Linked DNA regions of Homo sapiens: all the other regions are linked to region 2. The links are contacts of gene promoters, found by promoter capture Hi-C in human tissues and cell types (Jung and others, 2019). All regions are on one chromosome and are shown on one strand. Each heading gives the region's core, a stretch centred on a gene start or on the middle of the fragment in contact. The rest is flanking DNA. Distances are from core to core; before and after follow the strand shown. Region 1 overlaps VAV2 (vav guanine nucleotide exchange factor 2). Region 2 holds the start of SARDH (sarcosine dehydrogenase). Region 3 overlaps VAV2 (vav guanine nucleotide exchange factor 2).

Region 1 (2,700 bases), core at 19-2,518, 160 kb after region 2:
TATTTTTAGTAGAGACGGGGTTTCACCGTTTTGGCCAGGCTGGTCTCCAACTCCTGACCTCAGGTGATCTGCCCGCCTCAGCCTCCCAAAGTGCTGATATCATAGGCATGAGCCACCGTGCCCAGCCTCTCCTGTCTGATTTTCCAGTGAACCTTAAGGGGGCCAAGGGCCTTAGCCCCAACACTCTCAACTGATATTGAAAACCATGGCCCAGTTTTAGGAACATTTCATGTAAAAGCACCACTCCGGGGGCCCAGTGGTCACAATGGCGACCATTTATTGGGCGCTTGCCATTCAACAGGCCGGCTACCCACTCCCCACGGGTCTCCTCAGATCGTCTCCTCCCGAGCCTCAGAAGAGGCATGGTTATTCCCCGTTTGTGACAGGGACCCTGAGGCAGAGTAAAGATGGCTGCACACTCTCTGAGACTCCTCCCATCAAGAGGCAGGGTCTGTGTCCTCCCCGGATCCAGCATGGCCTGTGGTGGCTCTGACCAGGGGAGCCTGTCGGGAGAGCCATGGCACCACCTCGAGCCTGGTCTCATGAGGCCTAGAAGCTTCCGTGGGTGCCACATAAAAAAGTCCAACTACCTTGCCAGAGAGCCCACATGGGGAGGCTGGCCCTGAGCCGCAGGGGCCTCTCCTGCCCTCCAGCAAGGGCCCGGAGCTGCCCTGAGGGGCTCCTGCCGGCCCGGCCTGGTGACTCTACCTAGGTCTGTAGGCACTGGGCTGGGCCCATCCCTCCTGGGGTATTTATTTCCCCCACTGTTCTGACACCAGGCCCTCCCGTAAGCACAGACAGCCCTGCTGTCCCTGACTCTGGAACCCCAGCGCCCACTGCCACATTCTACCTTTTCCCAGGAGACGGGCCGATGGGGTCAGTGGCAATGTGCCACCACCATCGGAGGGGGCTGGGGGTGGGGAGGACAGCTGCGCTCCAGAGGCCAAAGGAGATGGGCCGACGTCCCTACCATGCACCTCCTCCTACCACACATCTCTGCCTGCCTTAGTGGTCTGCACGTCAGGAGACTCTGTGGATGCTCCGAGCCTCCATGTCCTACAGGTCAGACCAGAACCTCCCACCCCCACCTCTCTGGGCCAAAAGTGACACAGTTTCGTCAGGACCATGGAGATCACAGACTTGGACCCAGGAAGACCCAATTTAAGGCCAGGCCCATCAGCTCCCCCTGCAATTGGCCTCCCTGAGACCCAACTTCATTGTCTATACACTGGGATAGGAACGGGCATCTGCGTCGGACGTGTGAGGACCACGCAGGACAATCCACACAACATGCACAGGGCCTGGGACATGTCAGAAGCCTCTGCTGCAGGACACAGGACACCTGGCCCCACGAAGGCAGAGCCCTCTGAATTTGACCAAACCTCCTCCATGCAGACACGGCTGCGGCCTTGGGGCTACCACATCCCCAGATTTGCGGAGCCTGAAATGCGGCCAGCACTGGAAGCGGGGAGACTCCCACATTGAGATGTTTCTGTTCTCCCAGAGCTCCAGTAGAGAAAATGTTCACCCACAAACCCCCCAGGGTATCCAGAGGCCAGGGGTGCTGGGGTGCAGGCTGCAGACAGGTTCCCACATTTGGTGCAGGGGAAGACACACATCTGCTCAAAAGAAAAATGAGGGAGTGTTTCGGGTTGAACTGTGTCCCCTCAAAAAAGATACATAGGGGTGCTAATCCCCAGGACCTCAGAATTTAACCTTACTTGTACAGAGACTTCAAAGAGAAATCAAGTTAAAATGTTGTCACTGGGGTGGGACCTAATCCAATATGACCCGTGTCCTTATAAAAAGAGGAAGTTTGCCAGGCGCAATGGCTCACGCCTGTAACCCCAGCACTTTGGGAGGCCAAGACAGGTGGATGGATCACTTGAGGTCAGGAGTTCAAGACCAGCCTGGCCAACGTGGTAAAACCCCATCTCTACTAAAAATACAAAATTAGCTGGGTGTGGTGATGCACACCTGTAATCCCAGCTACTAGGGAGGCTAAGGCAAGAGAATCACTTGAACCCGGGAAGTAGAGGTTGTAGTGAGCCAAGATCAGGCCACTGCACTCCAGCCTGGGCAACAAGAGCGAAACCCTGCCCCAGGAAAAAAAAAAAAAAAAAAGAGGTAGTTTGGACACAGAGATAGGCACAGAGGAAAGACGACAAGAATACAAAAAGAGAAGACGCCGTCTGCAAGCCCAGGAGAGTGCCCCGGGACACAGTCTCCCTGTGCCCCAGAAGGCACCAGCCCCGCCGCCACCCTGATCTCAGACTTCCAGCCTCATTTCGGTTCCAGTACATTTCGGTGGTTTCACAGGGCTCCTTCCCTCCCCGCTGCACTGTCCCTCGGGCCCCTTCCTCTACCCCACGCTGGGTGGTGCTCCCGGCTCAGGGTCCCATGCCCACCCTGCACCGGGATTCCCTCTGTGAGGGCGTGCCAGGTCTGCCCCATCCCCTGGAGCCCCACATCAGGCTCAAAAGACAGGGGCTGAAACAACAATCCCGGGAGATGTGACGGCCACATCACCTGCCAGTCAGGAGAGGTTTTGTATCACTTAGAAAATATGGGGGTGGGGGCTGCACACAAGCCTTTTCTGGGGTTCTCAGGACACAAAGTCGGACATGGCCTCAGCCAGCCTCGGGTCCGGTGGCTCACAGAGGCTCACCTGGTTTTGAACCATAAAGAAATTTAGCAAAG
Region 2 (2,700 bases), core at 109-2,608:
AGCGGGGGAGTCTGACACACGGAGAGGCTCCCTGAGGTGACCAGGGTCATAGGGCCTCCATGTGGCAGTGCCAGGGACTCTCTCCTGCCCCCTCTTCTGACCATCCCAGGGGGACTCAGGACCCACTGCCACACTCTGTCCCACCTGAACTGTGGGCACTGCCCAAGCCCTGACGAAGCCCAGAACCCTGTCCTAGGCACAGTGGGGGATGTGAGGGGGATCCCAGCTCTCAGGCTGGTCAGGGCTGCCCCCCATCTCCTGCCCCAGTGCCCCATCCCAAGGGAGGGAGCAGGGAGTCTGATTGCAGCGGCGTAGGGGAGTGAGGAGGTGTTGGAGCTTGTCCTCAGCCTCTCAGCCCTCAGTGTGTCAGCCCGCCTGGCTCCTGCCTGCAGAGGTGGCCCCGGACAAGGAGGCATGCCTCCTGCATGTGTCTGTACATACCTTCAGTCCTTGAAGGTCCACAGTCTTCCAGGAGCCCCCAAAAGTGGTGCCCCACCAGGGGAAAGCCAGCTTGAGTGGCACCGAGGAAGGCCCTCCAAGGCTGAACACCCCCACCCCACCACCCACCACCCACCACGGTGCCGCATGGCACAGCACACCTGGTCAGCTGTGGGCAAAAGCCTCCCTCCTCCTTCCGACTGTGCCCAAAAAGCGACAGCTGCTGGCGCCGGAGGCTGCCACGTGCCCCTTCACCACCTGCCTGGTCAGTCAGGGCTCTTCTGACTGTCAGACTGGGGGCTGGCAGCGGCCCCAGCGGGGACAGCCCAGAGCCCCTCCTGCCTGCCACCTCCCTGGAAACAGCTGCCTCCACATTAACCCACTCTCTTGCCCCCTCCAACTCTGTCTCGTACCTGAGTCAGCTTCCCAGGAGTGAGGGCTGAGGACAGCCCTGGGCTTGGGATCAGACAGATGGGTGGGGGTTTTGTCACAGGACTGGGGCCTCGAGCAACAACTTAACCTCACTGCAAAGCAGAGGACCCAGGAACGCCCTCCTCCTCCCAGGCTCAGGGGGTGGTGGGGGTCAAGCGAGGAGAGCGCCTGGCACCTTCGCCTGGTGAGGGTAGGCAGACTTGTGGGGAGGAGCGGCAGGGGGCGGGGAGGCAGCTGCCCATATGGTGAACCCTGGTCCTGCTCATGCAGCTGGATGGTCCCTGCAGCCAGAGGCAGAGGGAGATCCCAGCCAGATCTGACCAGGCCCAGCCCCGCCCACATAGGGGAGGCCCCAGCCTCGTCCCTCCCTGGGGGTGTACCTCCAAGTACCTCTTGTCAGCTGCAGTGCCCCTCGGCCCTAAGAGTGCTTGGCCCAGCAGAGGTGCCTTCACCTTCTTGCTTCCCAAGCAGTGGCCTGGCCGGAACTCCAGGCCTCCCCCGCCCCCCACCCTCGCTGCCAGCCCCATGTCTCCGCCCAGGATCTGGGCGGAGCGTACCGCCCACCACTGCGGCTTCTAGGCCAGCTTAGTTGGGGCTTCTAGGCCAGCCCTGTGGGCAGCTCCCTCTGAGGGCGGCAGAGCAGGGTTGTGAACCCCATGCCCCATTACCCGTAGGCGACCTGGCAGTCACCCTTCCGCTCCAACCCTCATTTCCTCGTCTCTGAAACAGGCGCCTCAGGGTTGCTGCAGTAGACCCAGGCACCACCTGCCTGCTGGAGCCGCCCGAGCTCCCCGCGCCCAGAAGGAGCTATGCACAGGCAGGGTGGGCAGGAAAGGTGGGGTCAGCAGCAGCTTGGGCCAGGGGCCCGTCCACTGCAGGGAGGCTCCTTTGGTGAGGTCATCTCAGCACATGCCCCAGTTTGCTCACCCCCAGGGACAGGATGCTCACTGCCTTCAGAGGCGAGTGAGAAGGCCTGGGTCAGCTTCCCAGGGACAGGGTCTCCTGGTCTGTCTGCGTCCTGCTTTCCCGAGCTCCCAGACCCCTCTGGTGTTTGGGGAGATGCCCCCAAGCCACTGGCTACTGCACAGCACGTAGCCCCCAGGGCAGGGATTCCAGCCTCCATTGACTGTTGGGGACAGCAGTGCCCAGGGAGGGGGCCACACAGCAAGCTGGTGGAGGAGGCAGACCGGATGCTGCAGCCTGACTCTGGGCTGGGGCAAGTTACCCCTTCCCAGACAGAAGTAGACACCCAGAGGAGGGGTGTGGAGGAAACCCAGAAAGAATACACCTCTGGATGCCCAAAGAATCAGAACAGGTGCTGATGGAAAGTCACATCTCCTCCTCGCGCTGGATCAAAGACGGGGCATTTCAATGGCAGTCTGTTAATATTGTAATGATGCCAGCTGCCAATACCGGAAGCGATCGTATAGTAAACTGCTGTAATTAATACCAATCAAATCATTGTGTTCTTATTCACACCGAGGATGTCCGACTGTCTTGTTGCCAGCTTGTCTATCCTCTACATTTACTGAATGCCCAATGTGTACAAAGCACTGCTGGGAAACCTATAGTGACATCTAAGACCCAGCCCCTGCCCTCGAGGGGCTCAGGGTCCACGAAGCAGACAGATCCAGGGAGAGACACGACACCACAAGGCTGGCTTCCTTCCAGCAGGGAATCCAGGAGGACCTCTTAGAGGAGGGGGCCTGGGCTCTGGGCCTGACCACGTGCTGACACCATTCTCAGTCCCTGCCTCAAAGGCAAAGGGCCCACTGGCTTAGGCCCCTGGCTGCCCAGTGGAAAGCTGGCCCCGCCAGTTTGAGGCTTACC
Region 3 (2,700 bases), core at 67-2,566, 230 kb after region 2:
ACATCACTAATCATCACAGGAATGCAAGCCAAAACCACAACGAGATACCATCTCACCCCAGTTATAATAGCTATTATCAACAAGAAATCAACAGATGCTGGCAAGGATGTGGAGAAAGGGGAACACTAGTACACTGCTGGTCAGAACGTAGACTAATACAGCCACTATAGGAAACAGTACAGAGGGTCCTCAAAAAACTAAAAAGAGATCTGCCTGATCCAGCAATCCTACCACCAGGCATGTAAACAAAAGAAAGGAAATCAGTGTTTGAGATATATCTGCACTCCCACCTTTACCGTAGCACTATTCACAATCAACCTAAATATCAGTGAATGAATGGATAAAGAAAATGTGACATATATACACAATAGAATACTATTCAGCCATGAAAAAGAATAAAATCCTGTCATTGCAGCAATGTGGATGGAACTAGAGGTCATTGTTAAGTGAAAAAAGCCAGACACAGAAAGCTAAATATCATATGGGCCGGGTGCAGTGGCTCACACCTATAATCCCAGCACTTTAGGAGGCCTAGGCTGGTGGATCACTTGAGGCCAGGAGTTTGAGACCAGCCCGCCCAACGTGGTGAAACCCCATCTCCTACTAAAAATACAAAAATTAGCCGGATGTGGTGGTGTGCACCTGTAGTACCAGCTACTCAGGAGGCTGAGGCAGGAGAATGGCTTGAACCCACGAGGTGGAGGTCGCAGTGAGCCAAGATCACACCACTGCACTCCAGCCTGGGCAACAGAGGAAGACTCTATAACCAAAAAAAAAAAAAAAAAAAAAAAACCTAAATATCATATGATGTCTCTCTCATATGTTAAAGCTAAAAAAGTTGACCTCATGGAGGGACAGAGTGGAATGATGGACATCAGAGACTGGGTGGGGCGACAGGAAAGTGAAGAGAGATTGGTTAATGGGGGCAAACATGCAATTAGACAGGAACGAGTCCTAGTGCTCAGAAGCACGGCAGGAGGATTACAGTTAACGATAACTTCTTGCATATTTCAAAATAACTAGAAGAGAGGACGTGAAATGTTCCCAACACAAAGAAATGCCACATGTTTGGGATCATGGGCATCCTAATGACCCTCATTTCATCATTACACACGGTATATGTGTATTAAAGTGTCACACATACCCCATAAACAATGGCATATGTGTATCAAAGTGTCACACATACCCCATAAACAACGTACAATTATTATGTACCAATTAAATAAATAAATAATACATTTGAAAAGGTTGTGGGGGGGAAAAACACCACCAAAAGGCAAGAGAGGCTCAGAGATGCAGTTGTCAAAGCTCTGGTACCACCCATGCACCAGGCAACATGAAGAGGAAGAGAAACGCGCTCGGGGCCAGTCCCATGGTCCCCAGGGTCCCTACCCATGGGGCCATCCCCGGGGGCCTGGACAGAGCTGCCGGTCCTCTAGAGCCTACACGACCCGGGCTCTGGGGCTGCCTGGGGACATCCTCCAGCCACACACTGACCCATCACAGAGCCTTGTAGCCGGGAGAGAGAGCCACCATCGGCCTCTGCCTCTCGTGCAGCTTCAGACCATGGCACTGTCCTCTGTCAGCCCTGGGCTCACTCCTGGGACCTGCCGGGGTAGGGCCCTGTCCCCAGCTCAGATCTGGAGGGTGTCTCGAGACCCCCGGCTGGCTGGCTCAGCGGCTCGCGACAGCACAGCCACCCTCGGTTGCAGCAAATGTGCCTCACTGAGAACCACCACGAGGCTATTTCCCGATTAAAGCTTTAACAGATCAATAGCAATAAGTGAGTCCCCCAAAAATCAATCTAAGGCAGTGCCCTTTTCTAAGAAAAACCACTCTTTCCACAGGCAAAAACCACTTAAAAATAAGAGACAACTGTTTTGGGTTTTGAGGCAGTTTGGCCGGGTGTCGGTGAAAGCCGTCTAGTTGCCTGAGATGAATCCCACATGCCGGGATTCACACTTCCCCCGAGAGCTGGATTCCACCGTGCCCGCCGGGCCTGCGAGGACGAGAGCTGGATTCCACCGTGCCCGCCGGGCCTGCGAGGACGAGCCTCTGCACCTGCTTCCCTCCTGCCGGATGAACTGCGGCTTCTCACGGCTGCGCTGCTGGCATGGTAGAGAATACAACGAACAGGGAAGGAGGGAGGATCTGGAATTCAGTCTGTGCCAATCAGACGTCTCTCTCCAGGGATCTGACAGTGCCAGAGGCTGCTAAGTTTGGTCACTCCCAGGCTGGGGCCAGACCCACCAAGACCACTGACCTCCCACCTTCAAGTCCAGCAAACCTGGACACCAACCAGCATCAGCACCACTGAGACAAGAAGCCTGAGGCCAACCAGGGAACCTCAGGGGTGGAGCTGAAACACCCCAACCCTGACCAGAGCGGATTCCAGGAAGGCTGCTGGGAGAACCCAGACATCCCTGCAACCTTGGCCAGTGGGGGACTTGAACCCCTAGGGCCAACTCCAGATGAGCCCCACTGTCCATCGCACTGCTCAAGCCTGACCCCAGAGCACCCTCTTCATCACCCAAGTCCAATCCACCCCAAGCCCACCCACTCCTCCTGCGCTCCAGCGGGGCCGTCCATCTCTCTCCATTCCCACTTCTCTCCCCACCCCCCAGCCTGGACACCCCCATCTGCCTCTGCCCCAGCCTCTGGGGCTCCAGGCCTCCCTCTCCAGGTGTCCCTGTAGTGCAG

Evidence for each region. The method cuts DNA at HindIII sites, captures the fragments that hold promoters and counts their contacts. A contact is called where the count stands out against the background at its distance.
Region 1: a contact is called between a fragment that was not itself captured here and the fragment with the promoter of SARDH in region 2, in 2 of the 25 tissues and cell types used here (lymphoblastoid cells and spleen).
Region 3: a fragment that was not itself captured here is called in contact with the fragment with the promoter of SARDH in region 2 in 3 of the 25 tissues and cell types used here (bladder, mesendoderm cells and thymus).

Annotation. Positions count from the first base shown.
Region 1 is chr9:133,900,973-133,903,672 of GRCh38, forward strand. All of the region lies in intron 2 of VAV2 (vav guanine nucleotide exchange factor 2), which reads right to left. Among named protein-coding and RNA genes, the nearest start is that of VAV2, 90 kb to the right of the region's middle. RefSeq lists an enhancer at 1,901-1,970. The HindIII fragment of the contact is 4,251 bases long and covers 1-2,700 here.
Region 2 is chr9:133,736,994-133,739,693 of GRCh38, forward strand. SARDH (sarcosine dehydrogenase) reads right to left here and starts at 1,359. Exons shown (of 21, transcript NM_001134707.2): 1 at 1,261-1,359. The HindIII fragment of the contact is 19,009 bases long and covers 1-2,700 here.
Region 3 is chr9:133,967,166-133,969,865 of GRCh38, forward strand. All of the region lies in intron 1 of VAV2 (vav guanine nucleotide exchange factor 2), which reads right to left. Among named protein-coding and RNA genes, the nearest start is that of VAV2, 24 kb to the right of the region's middle. The HindIII fragment of the contact is 3,149 bases long and covers 1-2,700 here.